7 separate regions of the Homo sapiens genome follow, and all the other regions are linked to region 4. Evidence: promoter capture Hi-C in 16 types of primary human blood cells and fetal thymus (Javierre and others, 2016). All regions are on one chromosome and are shown on one strand. The core of a region is centred on a gene start or on the middle of the fragment in contact, and the rest is flanking DNA. Distances in the headings are between cores, read along the strand shown. Region 1 has its middle 43 kb from the start of GBP6. Region 2 has its middle 80 kb from the start of GBP6. Region 3 overlaps GBP6 (guanylate binding protein family member 6). Region 4 holds the start of GBP4 (guanylate binding protein 4). Region 5 has its middle 5.2 kb from the start of GBP3. Region 6 has its middle 63 kb from the start of GBP6. Region 7 overlaps GBP3 (guanylate binding protein 3).

Region 1 (3,274 bases), core at 713-3,212, 210 kb before region 4:
GGTAGGGTAGGAGAAAGAGAAATAGAGGAGGAATAGTAGGAGTGGAGAGGAGGAGGAGAAGGGGCTGGGAAGGTGTGTGTGTGTTTGTGTGTGTGTGTGTGTGTGTGTGAGAGAGAGAGAGAGAGAGAGAGAGAGAGAGAGAGAGAGAGAGCGAGAAAGAGCTATCAGACCAGAAGGTGATGAATGAGGCTAGTGTCTTGACAAGGAATTCAGGCGAGGACTTTCCAGAAGGCAGGATTAAAGTAGTCTGATTGCATAGAGAGGTTAAAATAAGCAAAGATATTTTCTCTAGAGATGCATTACAGGAGAATTAAAGAGGAAACACTTTAGGCCCCAGTCTCTACTAAAAGAAGACAAAATTGGAAGCACTTTAGTGAAGCAGTGGGGTTGAATTTCACTTCTAAGGGACAGGGATCAGTGGGCACTAGGAAATTAGTGAGTCTGGACTATTTCTAAAGAAAGTAATCCATTCTGAAACGAAGTTCACAAGTGTAATAAAAAGTATACTGTTTTCATGAATCTTCATCTTTCAGGCTGAGTTTCAGTTTTTTCTTTGTCTTTAACCATGTCAGTGGGCTGATTACTCTGCTTCTCATTTGCTGTTCTTTCCTTATGAAAAGAACCCATTTGTAGCTCTTTCCATTTCTTAGCTGCATAGGAGCAGGATTCAGCAAGCTCCATCACTGATAATGGAAATGTAATCATGTCTCCAGTCAACACAGAGAATGACAACAAAGAGAAAGACTATCCTAGTGCATTTCAAACTCTCAGTTTAGCCCCTGTCTACTGGTGCCTAATTCAACACAAACACTGTAGTGTCACTTAAGGCCATGCTGTCCCTGATAACACCAGGATTTCATCTGACCTGCGTCCCACTTCAGGCTCATCTGCAGCCTAATTTGGTTCTGACGATGTTTAAGAAAATGAACTGACCTTTATAAATTCCTTCCCATCCCTGCCACAACCTTATGGGTTCCATATCCCTGAGCTGAGATCCTTTGGAGCTAAAGAGAAAGCTGCTTAATGAGAAGTAGTAAAAGTTCTTACCTGTTCTTTTTCTCCTTAGTTCATGAGGAGTGGCTTCTAGCACTTCTGTGTCTCTCACTGGATCCTTGGACTAATATTTTACTGTTCCAACGTTGTAGGGCTGGGATTTCTTCAGTGATGAAATATTTAAAGGTTAAGCATATTTGTAATGGATTTAGAGTAATATGAAACTGAAAGTACTTCATTCAAGTCCACTACCATAAATGAAATTACTGGAGTGTGCCAGTGGGAGGGTTTAATGATTGCTCAACCAGAAGCTTCAAAGTTTTTTGTTGGAAATCTTAGAGACCATTTGTTGTCTAACAAAATGCCCATTAGGTTTTGAATACAATGATACATGTCTCATGGATTGAGTCAGTTTGAGAATCCTAGAATGAGGAGGCATCATGTTAATTTTCAGCTATAATTTCCTAAAATAATAGACACACTCACAATGGAGCTGCCTATTCTTTTAGAGGTGCGGTAAATAAGGAAAGGGCATATTTAACACATTGTCTGACATAAAAAGTCAGACAGCTGGAAAAAAATAAGTAGGGAATTTTTCATTTAGATGGTGGGGATGAGGAAGCATCATTTCCTCACTTTTCAGTTCACTTGGTTTGCAGTCTATGGAATCCTTCTAGTAGATAGTCACAGATAAAATTAATTCACAATTTAGTATTATTACATGATGCAATAATTAATGTGTATATGCCTAGTGATTTCAAAGATTGTCTTGATATTAGCATCCAATGAACAGACTGAATTTCAGGTGTGGAATGTTTTGATAATAAGCTTATTTTCACACAAAGAGCTCTATGCAGCCGGCTGTAGAGTTCATAGCAAGAGGGATTCAGTGATTCAGCTGGGGTTACTGAGTCTCATATCAAATGGAAGCAAGACCTGCAAGCTAGAAAAACAATCAACCATCTGTACATGTGTGTATAGAGAGCAAATATACTGCATGCACAGCACTGTACTAGGTGCTGAGAAGTGTATGAAGATGAATTAAACACAGCCACTGCCCTTAACTGGACTTACTCTAGAGGGTAAGAATGACTTGCACTCAAAGCTTAAAAGCAAAGGCCTGGAGAGGAGTGGAAGAGTGGAGCACTGAACACTGAAATATGTAGCCCAAGATTGCACATTGGAAGACTTCAAACTTTTACCCATGAAGAATTTCCTTTCATGTCACTTATGTGAAGTGGGTTGAGTTTTAGTTTTATAAAAAATGACCTGACAGTAAAAACAGACACATAGACCAATGGAACAGAATAGAGAATTCAGAAATAAATTCACATATTTTAAGTTGCCTCATTTTTGACACAGAGACCAGTAATATACATTGGGGAATGTATGTTTACAATTGGTGCTGGGAAACGTGGATATTAATATGCCATATATCAATTCAGAATGGATTAAGTATTTAAATGTAAGACCCCAAACAATAAAACTACTGGAGGAAAACATAGGGAAAACACTTGCAGACATCTGTCCAGGCAACAATTTGATGGGTAAAACTTCAATAGCACACTCAACAAAAGCAAAAATAGACAAATGAGACTGTTAAATTAAAAGGCTTTTGTGCAGCAAAGGAAAAAAACCAACAGAATGGAGAGTCATCCTGCGTAATGGGATAATGTATTTGCAAGCTATTCAACTTACAAAGGACTAATGTTCAGAATATACAAGAGTCTCAACTCAAAAACAAACAAACAAATACTCTTATTAAAAAATGGGCAAAATATCTGAATAGACATTTCTCAAAAGAAGAGATACAACTGGCTAACAAGTATATAAAAAAATGCTTAACATGTCTTAGATCTGGCACGATGGCTGAATAGGAATAGCTCCGGTCTGCAGCTACCAGTGAGACCAATGCAGAAGGCAAGTGATTTCTGTGTTTCCAACTGAGGTACCCTGTTCATCTCATTGGGACTGGTTAGGCAGTGGGTGTAGTCTTCTGCATTTCCGACTGAGGTACCCTGTTCATCTCATTGAGACTGGTTAGGCAGTGGTGCAGCTCACAGAGAGCGAGCAGAAGCAGGGTGGGGCATTGACTCACCTGCGAAGTGCAAGGAGCCAGGGACCTCCCTCCCCCAGCCAAGGGGAGCCCTGAGGGACTGTGCTACCCACCCAGATACTACGCTTTTCCGTGTGGTTTTTGCAATCTGCAGACCAGGATATTCCCTCGTGCCTATACCACCAGGACCCTGGGGTTTCAAGCACAAAACTGGGCAGCTGTTTG
Region 2 (3,363 bases), core at 734-3,233, 240 kb before region 4:
AATTCTAGAGTTGAAGAAAAATGCAATTGATATACTGAAGAATGTATCAGAATCTCTTAATAGCAGAACTGATCAAACAGAAGAATGAGTGAGCTTGAAGACATATTATTTGAAAATACACAGCCAGAGGAGACACAGGAAAAAATAATGCCAAAGAATGAAGCATGCTTACTAAATCTAGAAAATAGCTTCAAAGAGGCACATCTGAGTTATTGGCCTTAAAGAGGAGGTAGAGAAAGAGATAGGAGTAGAAAGTTTATTTAAAGGGATAATATTTAAGAACTTTCCAAACCTAGAGAAAAATATCAAATTCAAGTACAAGAAGATTATAGAACACCAAGAAGATTTAGTCCAAACAATACTACCTCAAGGTACTTAATAATCAAACTCCCAAAGGACAAAGATAAAGAAAGAATCCTAAAAGAAGCAAGAGAAAAGAAACAATGTACAGTAGAGCTCCAATACCTCAGTCAGCAGACTTTTCAGTGGAAATCTTTTCATTGGAAATCTTGTAGGCTAAGAGAGAGTGGCATGACATATTTAAAGTGCTGAGGGAAAAAAAATACTTTTACCCAAATTAGTATCTCCAGTAAAAATATCCTTCAAGCATGAAGGAGAAATACAAACTTTCCCAAAGAAACAAAAGCTGAGAGATTTCACCAACATCAGACCTGTCCTACAAGAAATGCTAAAGGGAGTTCTTCAATCTGAAAGAAAAGGATGTTATTGAGCAATAAGAAATTGTCTGATGTTACAAAACTCACTAGTAATATGAGGTATACAGAAAAACACAGGATATTACCAATAAAAAATAAGAACTACAACAATTATTCAAGACATAGATAGTATACTAAGACATTAAGAGAAACAACAAAAGTTACAAAGTGGGGAGATAAAGTGTAGAGTTTTTATTAGTTTTCTTTTTGCTTCTTTGTTTATGCAATTAGTGTTAAGTAGTCATCAATTTAAAATAATGGGTTATAAGCTAGTACTAGCAAGCCTTATAGTAAGCTTAAATCAAAAAAATATACAATGGATACACAAAAAGTAAAGAACAAGAAATTAAATTGTACCATCAGAGAAAATCAATTTCAGTAAAAGGAAGACAGTAATAATCTAAGGAAGAAAAGAAAAGACTACAAAACAACCAGAAAAAAATAACAAAATGCAGGAGTAGGTCCTTACTTATTAGTAACATTGAATGTAAATGGACTAAACTATCCAATCAAAAGAAAGAGTGCCTGAATGGATTTAAAAAAAAAAAAAAAAAAGAACCGGGCTGAGCGTGGTGGCTTATGCCTGTAATCCCAGCACTTTGGGAGGCCAAGGCAGGCAGATCACGAGGTCAGGAGATCGAGACCATCCTGGCTAACACGGTGAAACCCAATCTCTACTAAAAATACAAAAAATTAGCCGGGTGTGGTGGCAGGTGCCTGTAGTCCCAGCTACTTGGGAGGCTGAGGCAGGAGAATGGCGTGAACCCGGGAGGCGGAGCTTTCAGTGAGTGGAGATCGCGGCACTGCACTCCAGCCTGGGCAACAGAGTGAAACTCCGTCTCAAAAAAATAAAAAAATGAAAGACCCAGGCCAGGCGTGGTGGCTCACGCCTGAAATCCCAGGACTTTGGAAGGCCAAGGCTGGTGGATCATGAGGTCAGGAGTTCGAGACCAGCCTGGCCTACGTGGTGAAACCTTATCTCTACTAAAAATACAAAAATTAGCTAGGTGTGGTAGCAGGTGCCTGTAATCCCAGCTACTCCAGAGGCTGAGGCGGGAGAATTGCTTGAAACTGGAAGGTGGAGGTTGCAGTGAGCCAAGATTGTGCCACTGCACTCTAGCCTGGGCAACAAGAGTGAAACTCTGTCTCAAAAAAACAAACAAACAAAAAAACAAAACAAAACCCGATGATCTGTTGCCTATTGCCTACAAGAAACATACTTCACCTACAAAGACACACATAGAATGAGAATAAAGAAGTAGAAGAAGATATTCCATGCTAATGGAAACCAAAAAAGAGCAGGAATAGCTATACTTATTGTGATGGTTAACACTGACTGTCACCTTGATTGGACTGAAGAATGCAAAGTATTGATCCTGGGTGTGGCTGTGAGGGTGTTGTCAAGGGGGATTAACATTTGAGTCAGTGGGCTGGGAAAGGCAGACCCACTGTTAATCTGGTGGATACCATCTAATCAGCTGCCAGAATGGCCTAAGTATAAAGCAGGCAGAAAAATGTTAAAAGATTAGACTGGCCTAGGCTCCCAGCCTACATCTTTCTCCTGTGCTGGGTGCTTCCTGCCCTTGAACATCAGACTTTAAGTTTTTCAGCTTTGGAAGTTTGACTGGCTTCCTTGCTGCTCAGCTTGCAGATGGCCTATTGTGGAACCTTGTGATTGTGTGAATTTAATACTCCTTTATAAACTCCCCTTCATATGCATATCCATCCTATTAGTTCTGTCCCTCTAGAGAACCCTGACTAATACAGATTTTGGTACTAGGAGTGGTTCTAAAGGAACAGAATATTAAGGATGGAGTTCTGTTTTGGTTTTGAGGTTTCTGGAGTTGGCTGCTTAATATGATTAGACCCCAAAATGCTAAGGACTCTACTTCTAATAGTATGGAGAACACTGATAGTCCTTGGCATGAACTGTTTAGAGAGTTATGCAAAATAAATGCATTTGATACTCCTGATTCATTCCTTATGAGAGGCAAGGAGTTTAGTGATTCTATGCATAATAACTTTGACCATTTGTGGAGAACCATGGAACATAATGAAGCTGGTTAGTTGCTCCTAAGTTTAGTGGACAAAGTGATGAAAGTAAATGATAAATTCAAGGCTTCTGTCTCCTGGATTCAGAAGCAGATACTGAGCCTCAAATCTGCTAAGACTGCCCTGAGTAAGAGAGTTATCTCCTATAAAGAAAGAGCTGAAACTGTGGAAAAACAGACAAAGCTTTTATCATGCAAGTGGCTGACCTGCAATGAAAGGTGCATGCACAGCCTCATGAGGTGTCTATTGTTAAAGTGAGGTCATTGATTGGAAAAGAATGGGAGCCTGCAACTTGGAATGGGGACATGTGGGTGAACCCTGATGAAGCTGGAGACACTGAATTTGTAAACACTGATGAAACATTTTTGCCAGAAGAAACAGCTTCCCCATCCCCAGTAGTGGCAACATCCCTTCCCGAACCCATGCTGCTATCAGCCTTTCCACATTTGTCTAAGGAGATGAACCTTGTGCTGCCTGAGGCAACAGTGATGGCCTTCCGTGAGGCAGTTGCCAGGCAAGATAATGTTGATTCTCCTCAGGAGCCTCTCCCAACACACCTGTTTGCTTCCAGACCTATAACTAGGTTAAAGTCCTG
Region 3 (3,383 bases), core at 236-2,735, 180 kb before region 4:
GTGCTAATTTGGGCAGGCTACCTATACAGGGTGACAACTGCAGCAAGTTTAGAAACTGTCCCTTTCCTGTCCTTTTAAGTCTGGAAATTTCTAAGAGTTGTATGTCAGCATGGATCTACCTCAGGGTGTTTGGATGGTACTAGAGCTCCTGGTAATATGTGGTCTTGGTGAAGGAAACCAGCTGCTGTTCACATCAAATACACTGTGTGGAACATATGTTTAACTTCTTGAGATTACTTTTAAAATCTCCCAAAACAGCAGCTTCGACCCTATTTATATTCCCCAAGGACTTGTAGGGATCATAGTCAACCTTACCTCTCCAGAATCTAAGTATAGAGAATATAGAGAAGAATTCCAAGTCTTACTGAAACAATTAAGAAAAAAAGGATTCAGGGCTTTTAGTGATTGCCAAGCAGCAAATGGTGATGTGCTTCCTTTCATGATGTTGCTGTAACCTTCACCAGCCCTTCCTGAGGTACCTGGGTGAGGACCGTCTGGCCTGCTGAGGCCAAGGGCAGACTTACCTTCTGCGTGTGCTCCAACATCATAATCTGCTCTCTCAGTAGGTGTTCTCTCTCCATCTGCAGCTTCTCCTTCAGTTGGGCTATGTTTTCCTTGCGACTCTTATCTTGAGCCTCCATCTGTTGCTGCTGCTCCTGTAATTTCTGTTTTAAAAGTTCCTGTTCCTTCTCAGCTGCCTCCTTCTTGGCCCGATCCACTGCTCCATGAAGGTATTAGAAAGAGAAGAAAATAATAGGTGAAGATTCATCTCCACTTTTCTGAGCTGAGACTAAACCAAATCTGAAAGGCAGGGTGAGAAATCACAGAATTCACCCAGGTCCACACCATTAAGAGCGCATTTGAGAATGTGATGGGAAAGGCTCTGCCTGTCTGGCTGATGTACAATCATAGCTCCCCTTGTTATTTTAAGATTTAGCAGAGTGTGTGTTCCACAGAAGAGGAAATTCCTCATTTTGGGAAGGTTTTCCTGTTAGATCTGTTAGAGGGCATTGTATAAACGTACCCCTCCTGTGTAAGCTGAGCCCTGCCCCATACCTGCTACTGCCTTCTCTCTATCAGTGAGGGCTTTATCTGACTGCAAGATGGATTCCTCTATCACCATCTGTGACTCCAGGAACCTCTGGAAGACCTCTTTTGCCTATGGAAGGAAGAAAAAGCACTTAGATTTCTTTGAAAATCTATGTTCTGGGTATTAGTGTTGCAAGAACAATTATGGTCTTGTAACTTTTGCTTTATGCCTAAAATTCTAAAGTGGCCCCCTACAAAGTGTGCGGGCTCTTTAGGGTGACCAGAGCCCCTCCTCAATTCCTGCTTCCTGTCTCCCTCCAGTGCCTTTCCCACTGCTGTAATATCTCCCTGTACCCGTTTTGGGTTCCGGCCAGGCAGAACTATGTGCACAGGTGTACAAACTCCCAATCTCTGATGCTTATACATGTCTGTCTTCCAGTGTGCAATGCTGCCTCTAATCTATGCTGTTGCTTTCTCCTGCCACTTGCTGGCTAGAACTTTAGGCAAGTTATGTAATCATCCTTGGGTACTAAGTTCAGATCTGTAAAATTTCCAAATAAAGGTGCTTCTTAAAGTCATTAGGAAGATGAAATTAAAATGTCTGGGGAAGAATTTAACAGTATACTGTAGGTAATAACAGCTCGTGAGTTAGTTGTATTATTACTACTATTATGTTTATTACCACCACCTAGGTGGTAATTTTCATTCTGTCTCTCCTGGATTTCTGAATACTATACTCTTTGTTTTGGAATAAAAATTTTTATTCTAAGAAATAAATATTAATTAGTGGACATTGAAAGCTAAGGCGTTATGCTATCCCTCTGCTCTCTTATTACCCACGGCTGGTGCTGAAGACTCCATTCACTCTATCCTATAAACTTCCCCATGCTCCCCTTATTCCTTACCTTTACTCCTTTCCTGGGAACTTGCCAATAGTCCTGTTCAATCCTTTCCTTTGTTTCCATGTAGAGCTTGTGCCCTCCAGGAACAGAGAAACTTCCTGCTGAGATACTTTCCATTAGTCCCTTTGAGAGCTCATTGAGTTTAGCCTGGCAGTATTGAACAGATGACTCTTCATTCTGCAGCAAGAAATCCCCCTTCTTATTCATTGTGGTTTCCTGCAAGGGAAATGTAGAGAGATGTCACCAGAAGAAACATGGAGGAGATGAAATTCTAAAGAATCTGGTGGTAGAGTCAATCTAACTGTGGTCCTCATGAGAAAAACATTCTAGTGGAGTAGATGTGGAATCAGAAACACAAAACTTCATACATTTACAATGCTAGAAATTCTCTTCAAGGCTATGGAAAAGTTCATTAATCTTCCTGAGCTTCAGGTTCCTTATCTGTGACATGATGAGACTACATTCCATAATCTCTATGGTTTGTTGCAATGGTATCATCCTGTGTTCCTGTCCTCAATGGTACAAGGATACAAGAAGGAGCAATGTAAGTTGAACAATGGCCCGGAATTACGATCTGGTAAGAGAATCTTTGTTTCCTGGGAAAGGTAAACTATGCACAGAAAAAGTGCACTGCTCAGGGATGACTTGTGCGTGTTCAGAGCAGGCCTGGAATCCTTAGAAGTGTTCACTTGAGGATCTTAAGTGATCTGTATTGATTTTACCTCAGTTATCAGAAGATTTTCTAGTTAAGTGCTTATATGTAGTCTTTTGAAACTCTATCCCTCATGAGAATCCACAATAAGTTATTCCTCAGTGACAGATGAGCATTGGTGACAATAAAGGCAACTATAGGCTTCATTCTTCAAGGGGAAGGATGATGAACAGTAATGACTAAGGCAAATTACCATGAACTTCTTCTGGAATTCCTGATTTTCATCCTTGAAGGAGTGCTCCATGAAGATTGCAATGGCTTCCCTCTCACAGGCCGCATGCATGTCCAGCAGCTCCTGGAGCGTGTCTGTGGGGAGCTTCACTCGCTGGGCCATCTGCTGGCTGTAGTAGTCAGCTGCCCTCTGCACGGCCGCTGAGTTCTCACGCTGGGCCAGAGTTATCACTGCATTCTCCAGACAAGGCACTGCTCCACTGTTGATGGCCTCTACATAAGTCACTGCCAGAGTTCCCAGACCTAAATGAACCAGGAGATTTAGGGGCTAAATATGAAATTAAAGCTCAGTGGGATCCTAGGCTACATTTCTGAGCACACACATGCACTTACATACACGCGCGTGCACACATGCAAACACATACACCCACATCCCTACCTCCTTCTGCTATTATCACTCTTATTTTCATAATGACTCTTCAATTTTATGGATCTCCAGTCCACAGTGCTAAAAAATTTAAATATCTACTTGTATCTAACATACTAGAGGGTATGCAGGAAGTACAATT
Region 4 (3,478 bases), core at 205-2,704:
GGGGGAACACTTATAGACTTTTATCTGTGTAACACAGACATATTGCTATGTATATTTTCTATGTGCATAGACATATTGCTATGTGCAATCATTATACATACAACTGTGAATTAACAATTTTTTTTGAGACAGTATCTCACTCTGTTGCCCAGGTTGGAGTGCAGTGGGACCACCATGGCTCATTGCAGCCTTGACCTCCTGGGCTCAGGTCATCCTCCCACCTCAGACTCCCAGGTAACTAGGACTATTATAACAGGCACATGCCATTATGCCCAGCTAATTTATTATTATTATTATTTGTAGAGATGGGGTTTCCCCATATTGCCCAGGCTGGTTTCCAATTCCTGGACTCAAGTGATCTGCCCACCTTGGCCTCCCAAAATGGTTGGATTGCAGGAGTGAGCCACCACACCCAGCCTAAATTTCTTCTTGATTAACATTTCCATGATTATCTGAAGTCAGTAACATTGGATTATCTGGAAAGGGGTGCCACTGGTGAAATTCAGGTGTTTCAAACACATTTACCTGGATTCAGTCATCCCTGTACTTTTTCTTCTTCTTCTTTTTTTTTTTTTTTAAGAGAGAGGGACTTCCTGACATTAAAAAATGGTAAGAGAAAAAAGCACCTGATTTCTTATTACTGGTCCTATTTAAAACTTGACTTAGCTTTATTTTCACTTTCAATATTGCTTATAGGAAATAAATGTTAAGTTTTGAATCAAAATCGGCACCAGTAATTTTACCTGATTAAGTGCCTAAAATTTTGTACTTATTAATTTGCAAATGTTTAATCAGACATTACTAAACAAATAGGAAGATCTAAGGGATAGGCACAAATGGGGAATCATTACCCATTTATTTCAGATAGATTTCCCAAACTCTGTTAACAAACTGGCTAGTCATTTTAGGAACTGAGTCCATTTTTCTGGTAGCCTGGGTAAGACTCCTAATTATAAATTATGCTTTTTATGGTCCAATCATCCTCCTGTCCTCCAAAAGATCCAGTTTCAATGAGATGTTTGTGTTTTGAAAGAGAAGTATTTACTTGCCACCACCGCACCTCTGGGCAACAACGTTAGAGGATACATAGATATCCATAGACACACACACAAACACACACATATTTTATGGTTAATGAAAAAATAAAGAAAAGAGATGAGAAACAGAAACATATAAGCATGTAAAAAAAAATAAAAGCAAACAAAAACTCAAATTTCTTCCCTGACAAAATTACCCCTGAGAGACAGGTAGATGAAACAACATTCATGTCTGCTGCTCTATATTCATTTTGGAGGCGAAAGATACCTAAGCTAAGGGTGGAAGAGGGACAAACAAACCTGAGTTTCAGGAGTCTGGTGTGGAGGAACCAGCACTTTCAAGCTCCTTTAGTTTCCTGTCTTGATAAACAGGAAAATCCCCAACAGTCAACTCCCCACAAAGTGCATGTCCTTTCAATTTCGGTTCTCACAGACTCTTACTTGGATGTCTGTAAATCCGGCTGGACTTTCAGCTTCTAAGAACAGTCCGTTTCTCGAGGATCCAGGCGCAGGAGGACAGAGCAATGGGTGAGAGAACTCTTCACGCTGCAGTGCCCACACCAGGTAAGTTTGCTCTTAAGCTTTACCTTTCAAGTATATTTGGGTTATAACAAACAACAACAAATTCCCAAGCGCAGACTGCACACGGGGAGGGTTGGAGACTTCACACTGGCGGGTGACAAAGGCAGTGGAGGAACCTCGCGGGGAAGTCTGATGCTGCTTGAACCCCTGAGTGCTTTGCTCCGTGTGGCCCAGCGTCTCTAGACGGTCCACAGGCGGCGACCAGAGGCGCACCGGTGTCTCCAGGATGCGCTGCTCCTCCTCGGGCTTCCTCCCAGAGCTGTGGCATTTTCTCCTGCGAAATACCATCATCTAGTATACATATACACATTTTTTGCTTGTTTGTTTTATTAATTTTCTGTCCCCCACTAGAATATGTGATACCCTACCTTGTTTTAACCTGAGTTGACTCTCCCTTAGCTGAAAGAGCCAGACAGTCTGCATCTCGGCTCCTTCACTTGCAGCCCCTTACCCACCCGCTTCCTCAGGGACTTAACTTGTGCAAGCTGACTCCCAGCACATCCAAGAATGCAATTAACTGATAAGGTACTGTGGCAAGCCATACCCGCAGTTCCCAGGAATTCGCCCGGTTAACAGCACCCAGAGCCCCCCGCGTTTGTGTCTGGTTGATAAAGCCCAAAGCCCCGCTTCTATCACCTTGTGATAGAATTAAAGCCCCTGCACCTAGTACTGTTTACTTTCCTGTAACCATTTATCCTTTTAACTTTTTGCCTACTTTACTTCTGTAGGATTGTTTTAACTAGACCCCTCCCCCCAACCTCTCCTTTCTAAACCAAAGTATAGAAGAAAATCTAGCCCCTTCTTCGGGCCGAGAGAATTTTGAGCACTAGCCGTCTCTCGGTCGCCGGCTAATAAAGGACTCCTGAATTCGTCTCAGAGTGTGGCGTTTCTCTGTAACTCGCTGGGTTACAACAAATAGAGCTCCAAGAGGCAGAAGTTTGTATCAATTATGTTCCTTGCTTGTTGCTGAGAATCTAGAACGGTGTTAATTAGCACATGGTAGGTACGCAATACTCTTTATTAAATTAATGAGAGAGCAAATTCTTCTGGAATGCCTGGAGCCTTTTCTAACCACTCCTCATCTCCTTTTTGTAACATCCTGCCCCTATTTATTCCAGGAGTGGAATTATTCTGCCATCAGTGCCTTGATTTTCTAATTCTGTTTATTTTATGCATCACCTTGACAAGGCATTTTTAGCGTTCTTGTAAGAATCATAAATAATGTACATAACAGATCTGTACTAGTCTTTGACATGCTAAACTAAATATTTTTCCATTTGAAATGTACAAATTTTATATACATAGAAATTTTATATACCATTAAACGTAGAAATATATTTATATACCATTAAAATGTAGAAATTTTATATACCATTCCACAAGCAAAAAGCTAATATGTATGTGCCTTAGGTAGCCCTTAGGGATGACTTCAAGATCTTGTATTCTACTGAGTATTTTTTTCTGGGTTACAGGTTATCCAGAATCTGAATCCATCATGATGGCCCCCATTTGTCTAGTGGAAAACCAGGAAGAGCAGCTGACAGTGAATTCAAAGGCATTAGAGATTCTTGACAAGATTTCTCAGCCCGTGGTGGTGGTGGCCATTGTAGGGCTATACCGCACAGGAAAATCCTATCTCATGAATCGTCTTGCAGGAAAGCGCAATGGTGAGTGTGGTCCTAGGACAGGAGCCATTTACTTGGAACCAGTGATAACACAGCTGATCACACCCCCTCTAGGGTCATCCTAAAGAAGGGCATGACTTCTCCCAATGAAGAAAACTTCTAATTCTCACCACTAAATTTACAATCTCAAATATATATCACTCTTTAGTCCAATAGTAAAGAATCATCTCAACC
Region 5 (3,502 bases), core at 275-2,774, 170 kb after region 4:
AAAAGAAGAAATGGGGAAAGGATTCCCTATTTATTCCCTATTAATAAATGGTGCTGGGAAAACTGGCTAGCCATGTGTACAAAGCTGAAGCTGGATCCCTTCCTTACATCTTATACAAAAATTAATTCAAGATGGATTAAAGACTTAAATGTTAGACCTAAAATCATAAACGCCCTAGAAGAAAACCTGGGCAATACCATTCAGGACATAGGCATGGACAAGGACTTCATGACTAAAACACCAAAAGCAACGGCAACAAAAGCCAAAATTGACAAATGGGATCTAATTAAACTAAAGAGCTTCTGCACAGCAGAAGAAACTTCCATCAGAGTGAACAGGCAACCTACAGAATGGGAGACCATTTTTGCAATCTACCCATCTGACAAATGGCTAATACCCAGAATCTACAAAGAACTTAAACAAATTTACAAGAAAAAAACAAACAACCACATCAAAAAGTGGGCAAAGGATATGTCTTATTTTGAGAGAAGTCTCAAAAGAAGACATTTTTGCAGCCGACACATGAAAAAATGCTCATCATCACTAGTCATCAGAGAAATGCAAATCAAAACCACAATGAGATACCATCTCACACCAGTTAGAAAGGCGTTCACTAAAAAGTCAGGAAACAGCAGTTGCTGGAGAGGATTGGAGAAATAGGAATGCTTTTACACTGTTGGTGGGAGTGTAAACTAGATAAACCATTGTGGAAGACAGTATGGTGATTCCTCAAGGATCTAGAACTAGAAATACCATTTGACCCAGCCATCCCCTTACTGGGTATATACCTAAAGGATTATAAATCATGCTACTATAAAGACACATGCACATATGTGTTTATTGCGGCACTATTCACAATAGCAAAGACTTGGAACCAACCAAAATGTCCATCTATGATAGACTGGATTATGAAAATGTGGCACATATACACCATGGAATACTTTGCAGCCATAAAAAAGGATGAGTTCATGTCCTTTGCAGGGATATGGATGAAGCTGGAAACCATCATTCTAAGCAAACTATCACAAGGACAGAAAATCTAACACTGCATTTTCTCACTCATAGGTGGGAATTGAACAGTGAGAACACTGGGACATGGGGTGGGGAACATTACACACCAGGGCCTGTCGTGGGGTGGGGGGCAGGGGGAGGGAAAGCATTAGGAGAAACACCTAATGTAAATGACAAGTTAATGGGTGCAGCAAACCAACATGGCACATGTATACCTATGTAACAAACCTGCACATTGTGCACATGTACCCTCTAACTTAAAGTATAATTTAAAAAGTGCATGCAATCCTTTATCTTTACTTTTCATAATAGCTATATTGTCATATGATATAGTTATACTACTGTCCACAAATACTGTCCAATAGAATGTTGCAAACATCCAGAACGAGTATATTCCACTTTCTCACAGAAAGATTGTTTTCAGGTGGCAAGAAATGAAAACATTTACAAACTTTCAGGGTTTTCTATAATACCTTCAACTCATAATAATCGTTAATTGATTAGTATTTGTCCAATCTCATGAAAAACTTACAATACTGGACTAGTATTTGGGGGTCTGGTTTTTTTCCAAATATTTTTATATTTTTTGTTTTGATTAATTCATTCTACTCTATTTTGAATACAGATGACACATTTGTCTTTTTTTGATTTTGGCTTTTTTCCAGATAGTCATGTAAAAATGAATCAAATTCAGCAAATAGTTTCATGATTCTCATGAAATATCCATTATTCCAGGAATGTCACTTTCAATCATAACCTCATGTAGACCAAGCCTCAATTAAAATACAATAATTGCCACTATTCATTCAAAATGATAACAAATGTTCTTCAACACTTTGGTAAGTGCTTTTATTTGATTTACATTGAATTAAAAAAACTCAAGCCTTCATATGCTCCGTGGAGTCTTTAACATATTTTGAGAGTTCTTCTATATTCACTCAGTTGGAAAACCATGCCTTGTAAATAAATCTGTTCTTGTAAATATTATTTACCAACTAAACACCATATGCAGACTTTTAGTTCTGGGATATGCCAACCAAGATCTCATAATAGTTTGAACATTTTAAAATTTGTGAATAGTGTTTATTATCTCAGGGACAAATGCACGAGTAGGTAGTCCCAACACCGAGTGCTCCAGTCCCTCACCTTAAAGAGCTTCAAGAATGACACCAAAGGATTCCACCAATCCTGAATCAACCTTCTATCATTTCCCAGTAAAGTAGATGGGCAGAGAAATTCAGATATTAACTACTAATATTTGCTTCTTAAGGACACATATCCATGTTACACTTGCAAGAACAGGTCTAAAGAGTCTGTTACATATTGTTTTCCCTCCAAGAAGGAGACACAGAATTCCAGCTGTTAACTATGCAGCCATAAAAAGGAACGAGATCATGTCCTTTGCAGGGTCATGGATGGAGATGGAAGTTGGAAGCCATTATCCTCAGCAAACTAACACAGAAACACAAAACCAAACACCCTGTGTTCTCACTTATAAGTGGGAGCTGAATAATGAGAACACATGGACACATGGTGAGGAACATACACACTGGGGCCTGTTGGGGTGGGATTTTGGGAAGGGACAGCATTACGAAGAGTAGCTAAGGTATGCTGGGCTTAATACCTAGGTGATGGGATGATCTGTGCAGCAAACCACCATGGCACACATTTACCTGTGTAACAAACCTGCACATCCTGCACATGTACCCCTGAACTTAAGAGTTGAAGTATAAAAAAATAAATAAATAAAAAACTAGAAAAAAAGTCTATGGCCTAAGAAGGACTTTACACAAATATACTGTGGCTCTGTAAAATAATTTCTCTTTTTTAAGAAACACACACTGAAGTTTTTAGGTATAAAAAGCCATTATGTCTGTCACTAACCCTTGAATAGTTCAGACAGAAAGAAAATAAATTTAAAATGATAACATATGGGGAACTGAGGGGAAGACTGTACAGAAACTTTGTACTATTTTGCCACTTTTCTGAAGTCTAAAATTATATCAAAATAAAACTTCATAGGACATTATAAAGTTGAGAATGTTCCCTTTTGTTCTCAGTGTGTTGACTGTGTTTATCAGGAAGCGGTATCAAATTTTATCAAATGCTTTTCCTGTGTATATTGAGATGATTATATGGTTTTTGTCCTTCATTCTGTTGACATGGTGTTTTATATTAATTGATTTTCACATGTTAAACCATACTTGCTTTCATGGGATAAATCCCACTTCATATAAGTTTGGTATACTTTTGTGGGATTTGGTTTGCTAGTATTTTATTGAGGATTTTTGCATCCTTTTTCATAAAACGTAGTGGTCTACACTTTAATTATGATGTCTTTGGGTTTCATAGCATTGTAATATTGCCTCAAACTGAATGGGAAATTGTGCTCTTCTATTTTTGGTCAAGGTTGTAAGAAACTTGTATAAATTATTCTTTACCTGTTTAGTAGAAGTAGCCAGTGAAGTCATTTGGGGTTATGCTTTTCTTG
Region 6 (3,444 bases), core at 178-2,677, 230 kb before region 4:
AAATCCTTGTGCTTCCTTGTTTGGCTTTCCATTGCAATCAGGCAAACGGCCTGCATTGGTTTAGGTAACTGACACTCCCAAGACTCAAGGAGCTGCCGTGCAGCACTATTTTGAAAGCCCAGCCCCCATCAGACTGTATCTTGCTCTGGGGCGAACAGCCCCATCATCTCCACGTCCCTGGAACCCTGCGGACATCTCTTCATTTCCACCCAGAGGGCTGCAACTTTGTCCCGTGGGCTGAATCCAGTGGTGCAGTAAGGAACAGCAGTGCACCACACCAGGGAGGCTGCCCCCAGGACAAAGGGAGCCTAAATGCACACTCCTCAGTTTCTGAAAGCCACTTGCCTGGGGCCACTGCCACCAACAGCAACCCTCTCAACCTTCCACCGGAAGCAGGGCCACCAAGCATCTGCATGTGCCTCCAATGGTCCTGGAGCTGGTCTACCCAGACACTGTTCTGTGTCCTGAGGACAGGCTCTCACACCACCCACCATGCAAACATGCTGCCCAGGGCCTGGGGATCATGCTGCCTCAACTGTAGCTGTGGGCATGTGCATGCAACATCAGGAAGTCTGACAGCAGGCCCAGGTCACCTGCCACTGGGACCCAAGCATGCCATCCAGGGGCCTGGTGATTTCCTGGCCCCACTCACCATAGCCTGCACACTTGCACACCATTGGAGGGTCTAAGGGCAGGAAAGCAACATGCCTCCCTGGAGAGAGCTTGATTCTATTCTGGCATATGCTAGAGAAAAGTACTAAACCAAGTCAGATGCTTTGGAATGTGGTCTAAATATTAATGCTACCAAACTGGGGAGGAAGTAACTCAGTTTTGCTGATTTTTCATTTTCTTATGCTTTATTGGTTAACAAAGAAACCATTATTTGCTTTTGAAGGCAGAGTTATTATTTTCTACCATGAAGTTACTTCAACTCATAAAAATGTATTTTATTTACACCTTTGTAGCAATGGAGCTTGGAAGAAAATATAAAGCTTACCTACATGAACATTTCATCTAGTATTCTGTGGTCTCACCTGGTCTTCTATGAAGTTTCAGTTCAAGTGAGGAAACAGCACCATGCTCTATTATGAAAGGAGGCATTTGCCATGTGATTGGATCAGAGGTAGCTCAAGGTAATAAAAGGCCTCAAAGCAATTAGAAAAGACAGAATTATTAATGTGGATTTAATGGCATTAACTGCTTCCCTCCTTTTTTCTCACTGTGTTATTTTGAATAACCACATAGTTTTTTCAAGATTCTAATATATATAATCTAATCCATATGATTTTTGTACGTGTGAGTTACACAAGGCCGGTATATAAAACTTTGACCAATGTGTCTGTAAATCAGAGTTCTGCAAACTATGGCTTATGGGTGCCACCCTGTTATTGAAAATAAAAATTGATTGGAACATAGCCACACCTATTGGTTTATGTATTTTCTATGGCTGCATTTGCACTACATGCAGAGCTGAGTACTTGAGACAGACTGTATGACCTGCGAAGTCATAAATAGTTACTATCTGGTATTTTCAGAAAAGATTGCCAACCATTGCTATAAAGACTAAAACCTTCTTTTCTGACAAAAATAACTGCAAAAAGAAAACTTAATCAGAAATAAGAAGCCTAGTGAAATACATTGTATTTACAGTTCAGAAATAATTTTTAATTGCTATAAGAAACATCAACCACTTTCCTAGGACTTTTGACACATGAGATAAAGTCTATGTATACTAAGTAAACACAAGAACATTATTAAATGGGTCAAAAATGTCAAAAAACATCCGATATTCTCTTCTGGGGAAACTCAGCAAGATTTCAAGTATGAGTGTTAAGAATTAGAAAAGACTAGCATAAGCTTTAGCATTCTAAATAATAAGTAATTGAATTAATTCAATTCTGTTACACAGCATCTTTTAAAGTCAATCTTTGCAAATTATACATTGCCATAAATACAGTGTGTAATTGGCATTATGTGACTTTGTTTAATCCAGTGTCAACTGTCTAATGGTCTAAAGTGTCCCATTAAAGTTATAATCTGGATGAACTGAACAAGAAGAAAAGTTTTCTTCTTTAGCCCATTTGTTTATCACTCAATTCCTGCTCCTGCTCATGGTTTCTTCCACCTACCTCTGGAGAACATAAAGGGATTCTAGATCTCTGTATAAGGTGGTTTGCTTTAGCTTGAAATCATCAGTGAGGACAATACATGGGCAATGTCCACAAATCACATTATTGCTCATAGACTGTGTAGCCCTGATCTAATGGATAACTGTACATTGTCTTCACTAAGAAGCCAGGGTGGTTGTCCTTGATATTGGGACATTGTAGACTTGGCCAGACCAATGCCCAAATATTTCCCAAGACTTTTACCTAAGACTCTGCTCAGTACCCATTTGTCTACTGCTGGTCATCTGGAAGAATAAACTCCTGGGTGGTACCAGCTCATGAACCTTCCTGAGTTGGTACAGAGGTAAATGCATCTTTTTTGCACAATTTACAGTCTTTTTTTTTTTGGAAAAAACATGATTTTGATCATTGTACTGCATGCCTTTATAAATTTTGGTGTTATGATGCAAGATCTAATTATTATCAAATGTAGTGTCGCTTGTTCCAAATTCTAAAATTGTTTCAATTATGCCTTGGGTAGGGGTGACAGGAAGGCTCTGGTCTTTAGTTTATGGTACATGTCCTTGGTTGTATCATTGTCCTCTGGAGATTCTGTATCTCATTTTGGATTCTTCTGCTTACGTTTTCAAATCTCTCTTTTAGTAGTCGCTCTTGTTCCTAAAGAGGGACAAACGGAGGCTGAATAAAGTGTGGCATCGGGAAAATTGAAATATTCTATCTGGTTTCCACATTCAATGATTTGTTATTTAATTTTCTCTTAAACTTTTCTCTAGCCTTAATTTTCATTATACTTTTGCTTGGGCATCCAGGCTCAGTGATTTCTTCTCCTGCGAATCCTTTAGCTAAGAGAGAGTTTCAGCCATACATTTTGCTATGTTTGATGAACCTAAATTACCAGGCTTGATTTTCCCCCCATTAATTGTATACAGCCTTGGTGGGCAATCTTGATCATATGTTTGGCTTCAACTCTTATCTATGCATTATACATTCTTTTATATACCTACCTACATGTTTACTATTTGTCAGGCTCACGACTATGCCACAGGTCATGCTGAGGTCGGGAGGGAATGGGCGGATGAGCCGAAAGAATACTCAGCGGGCCGTGGGCAGGTGAATATGATTTTATTCAGCACCAGCTCTTAACAGCTTTCTCACACTAGCTGTCTACACTGTCTGCCTTGTCTTGGCTGCTTAGCCTGGCAGCCCCCCACACAGCTGTGCAGCCGGCTCTTCCCTGCCTTCAGGGTCAGCAGCTTAACTCTTTCTCTCTCTCTAGGCATGAGTGGCCTGAGCTGTGTCCTGGTTCCTCTCTGTC
Region 7 (3,196 bases), core at 249-2,748, 190 kb after region 4:
GCATAGGGAAGATTTGAAGTCAAATATATTGTTAAGATTTCCCACAAAGGTTTTGTATAATTAATAGGGGGAAAAAAGCAAGACCTTCATCAATAGAGCAGAAGGCATACGCTGAAACTCTTTTGGCTATAGAAAACCCAGGAGAAATAATCACACAGCCCAAATGCCCAGAAAAACTATAATTAAAATCAAGGGTAGAGAAAATTTCAAGAAAAAAACTAAGTACTAAATAAATCAATGCATGTGGAAACTAGATAGCTTACAGAGATTTACTTAATGCTACACTTATTTAGCCTCCATTTGTCCCTTTTTAGGAACAGGCCCGAGTACTAAAGGAGAGATGCCAAGGTGAAAGTACCCAACTTCAAAATGAGATACAAAAGCTACAGAAGACCCTGAAAAAAAAAACCAAGAGATATATGTCGCATAAGCTAAAGATCTAAACAACAGAGCTTTTCTGTCATCCTAACCCAAGGCATAACTGAAACAATTTTAGAATTTGGAACAAGTGTCACTATATTTGATAATAATTAGATCTTGCATCATAACACTAAAAGTTTACAAGAACATGCAGTTCAATGATCAAAATCATGTTTTTTCCTTAAAAAGATTGTAAATTGTGCAACAAAGATGCATTTACCTCTGTACCAACAGAGGAGGGATCATGAGTTGCCACCACTCAGAAGTTTATTCTTCCAGACGACCAGTGGATACTGAGGAAAGTCTTAGGTAAAAATCTTGGGACATATTTGGGCACTGGTTTGGCCAAGTGTACAATGGGTCCCAATATCAGAAACAACCATCCTAGCTTCCTAGGGAAGACAGTGTACAGTTCTCCATTATATCAAGGCTACAAGGTCTATGAGCAATAATGTGATTTCTGGACATTGCCCATGGATAATTCTCACTGATGGATCTCAAGCTAAAGCAAACCATCTTATACAGAGATCTAGAATCTTATATTTTCCATAGGAAGGTAAAGAAATCATTAGCAAGAGTAGGAATTGAATCATAAACAAATTGGCTAATGAAGAAATCTTTTCTTTCTTGTTCAATTCATCTAGATTATAACCTTAATGTGACACCTGAGACCTTTAGACAGTTGACCCTGAATTAAATAGTCACATGGTAACAATTATGCACTGTGTAATTTTAGTAATGTATAACATGCAATGATGCACTTTAACTGAAGATAGAGACTATGTTAGAAAATTGAACTAATTTAATTATTTGATTGTTTTAATCCTAAAGCATAAGTTAGTCTTTTCCTGATTCTTAAAGGTCATACTTGAAATCCTGCCAATTTTCCCCAAAGGGAATATGGAATTTTTTTGACTTTCTTTTGAGCAATAAAATAATTGTCTTGCCATTACTTAGTATATGTAGACTTCATCCCAATTGTCAAACATCCTAGGTAAGTGGTTGACATTTCTTACAGCAATTACAGATTATTTTTGAACTAGAAATAAACTAAACTAGAAATAAAATAAGTTTCACTAGTTTTTTTATTTCCATTTTTTTTTTTTTAGTTTTTCACCAAATAATAAGGTTTGAGTCTTTATAGCAGTGGTTGGCTAACTTTTCTGTAAAATACCAGATAGTGATTATTTATGGCTTTGCAGGTCAACTGTCTCAACTACTAAACTCTGCATACAGTACAAATGCAGCCATAGACAATACATAAGTAAATGGGTGGGGCTATGTGCCAATAACACTTAATTTTCAAAACCAGGTGGCACACACAAGCTATAGTTTGCAGACCTTTGTTTATAGAAACATTGGTCAAAGTTTCATTTTATATCTGCCTTATTTTACTTACATTTATAAGAATCATAAGGATTAGATTGTATATGTTAGAATCTTGAAATAATTATGTAGTGTTTCAAAATATTACACGATGAATCCCAAGAGGACCCACAGACCCTCTGAAGGAGGCAGACTGCTCCTGCAGGACCCAGGAAACACTCCAAATATTCTGACTGCCCCAACTGCAGAAGTGGGAAAGGGAGACCCTCCTCTCTGGAACACACACCCCCACTGGAGAAGCTGAAGGTTTGTGTGCAGGAGGAGTTTCCGACTTTACCTGAAGCTGAGTCAAGTTAGAGAGCCGAGCAAAATACAGGGGTAGAGGAAGCAGTTGGAAGGCCCTGGGAGCTCACTGTGTCCCCAGGCAGGCCATTCCTGCCTGGCACCACAGGGATCTATCGGGAGGTCAGCCAGAGGAGCAACAGGTAAAACTCCACAGAAAGAAGAAATTCTCCAACCAAACTTTGTAACAATTTGAATGGGGCGAGAAGCCTCCTGCCAGAACTCGGGGAGGGCACAAATCCAGCATGCAAACTTCACAGGCTGGTGAAGAACTAAAGTCCTTTTCTTTTTGGCTGAGCAGAAAGCCTCAGCCAAATTTTAAGCCCGCCCCTCTTGCCCTCTGCCTGGAAACAGACTCAGAGCTGTTGGCAGGGAGAAGGGCACAGTGGGAGTGAGACCGGCCTTCCAGTTTGCATCGGAGCTGGGTGAGGCCTGTGACTGCCAGCTTCTCCCACTCCCCTGACAACCTGCATGACTCAGGAGAGGCAGCCATAATCCTCCTAGGTACACAACTCCAGTGACCTGGGAATCTCACCCCCATCCCCCACAGCAGCCATAGCAAGATCCAGCCATGGAGAGTCTGAGCTCAGACACTCCTAGCCCCGCCCTGACCTGATGGTCCTTCTCCATCCACCCTGGTAGCTGAAGACAAAGGTCATTTAATCTTGGGAGTTCTAGGACCCTGCCCACCACCAGTCCCTCTCCCACTGATACTTTCTGGAAAGTGCCACCTCCTTTCAGGAGGCCAACCAGCACAAAAATAGAGCATTAAACCACCAAAACCAAGGACCCTCATGAAGTCCATTTCACCCTCCACCACCTCCACTGGAACAGGCACTGGTATTGTAGGAGGACAAGCCACCAACAAAACCCCTCAGACACTGAGTTAAAGAAGGAAGGGCTTTATTCAGCCAGGAGCTTTGGTAAGACTCACGTCTCCAACAACCGAGCTCCCTGAGTGAGCAATTCCTGTCCCTTTTAAGGGCTCACAACTCTAAGGGGGTCCACGTGAGAGGGTCGTGATTGATTGAGCAAGCAGGGGGTACATGACTGCGGGCTACATGCACTGGTAATTAGAACGGAACGGAACAGAACAGGACAGGGATTT

Evidence for each region. Contacts are between HindIII fragments. The CHiCAGO score rates a contact against its expected background, and 5 or more counts as called.
Region 1: a contact is called between a fragment that was not itself captured here and the fragment with the promoter of GBP4 in region 4, in 4 of 17 cell types (activated CD4 T cells, M1 macrophages, total CD8 T cells and 1 more). The highest score is 7.9, in activated CD4 T cells.
Region 2: a fragment that was not itself captured here is called in contact with the fragment with the promoter of GBP4 in region 4 in 1 of 17 cell types (activated CD4 T cells); the score reaches 5.1 in activated CD4 T cells.
Region 3: a contact is called between a fragment that was not itself captured here and the fragment with the promoter of GBP4 in region 4, in 4 of 17 cell types (activated CD4 T cells, naive CD8 T cells, monocytes and 1 more). The highest score is 8.1, in activated CD4 T cells.
Region 5: a fragment that was not itself captured here is called in contact with the fragment with the promoter of GBP4 in region 4 in 5 of 17 cell types (activated CD4 T cells, non-activated CD4 T cells, naive B cells and 2 more); the score reaches 6.6 in activated CD4 T cells.
Region 6: a fragment that was not itself captured here is called in contact with the fragment with the promoter of GBP4 in region 4 in 4 of 17 cell types (activated CD4 T cells, M1 macrophages, total CD8 T cells and 1 more); the score reaches 7.7 in activated CD4 T cells.
Region 7: a fragment that was not itself captured here is called in contact with the fragment with the promoter of GBP4 in region 4 in 2 of 17 cell types (naive CD4 T cells and naive CD8 T cells); the score reaches 5.5 in naive CD4 T cells.

Annotation. Positions count from the first base shown.
Region 1 is chr1:89,405,532-89,408,805 of GRCh38, reverse strand. It overlaps the pseudogene GBP1P1. Among named protein-coding and RNA genes, the nearest start is that of GBP6, 43 kb to the right of the region's middle. The HindIII fragment of the contact is 277 bases long and covers 1,824-2,100 here.
Region 2 is chr1:89,442,356-89,445,718 of GRCh38, reverse strand. No RefSeq gene overlaps it. Among named protein-coding and RNA genes, the nearest start is that of GBP6, 80 kb to the right of the region's middle. The HindIII fragment of the contact is 1,940 bases long and covers 1,014-2,953 here.
Region 3 is chr1:89,381,428-89,384,810 of GRCh38, reverse strand. It overlaps GBP6 (guanylate binding protein family member 6), which reads right to left. Exons shown (of 11, transcript NM_198460.3): 7 at 2,837-3,117; 8 at 1,935-2,147; 9 at 1,057-1,159; 10 at 525-718. Among named protein-coding and RNA genes, the nearest start is that of GBP6, 19 kb to the right of the region's middle. The HindIII fragment of the contact is 8,356 bases long and covers 1-3,383 here.
Region 4 is chr1:89,196,918-89,200,395 of GRCh38, reverse strand. GBP4 (guanylate binding protein 4) reads left to right here and starts at 1,454. Exons shown (of 11, transcript NM_052941.5): 1 at 1,454-1,601; 2 at 3,092-3,286. The coding sequence starts at 1,562. LOC107985076 (a long non-coding RNA gene) reads right to left here and starts at 2,049. Exons shown (of 3, transcript XR_002958332.2): 1 at 1,988-2,049; 2 at 1,338-1,893. RefSeq lists a silencer at 1,356-1,650. The HindIII fragment of the contact is 3,654 bases long and covers 1-1,620 here.
Region 5 is chr1:89,026,311-89,029,812 of GRCh38, reverse strand. No RefSeq gene overlaps it. Among named protein-coding and RNA genes, the nearest start is that of GBP3, 5.2 kb to the right of the region's middle. The HindIII fragment of the contact is 5,231 bases long and covers 1-3,502 here.
Region 6 is chr1:89,425,472-89,428,915 of GRCh38, reverse strand. No RefSeq gene overlaps it. Among named protein-coding and RNA genes, the nearest start is that of GBP6, 63 kb to the right of the region's middle. The HindIII fragment of the contact is 865 bases long and covers 995-1,859 here.
Region 7 is chr1:89,004,971-89,008,166 of GRCh38, reverse strand. It overlaps GBP3 (guanylate binding protein 3), which reads left to right. Exons shown (of 11, transcript NM_018284.3): 11 at 315-1,487. The coding sequence ends at 443. Among named protein-coding and RNA genes, the nearest start is that of RBMXL1, 14 kb to the right of the region's middle. The HindIII fragment of the contact is 5,370 bases long and covers 1-3,196 here.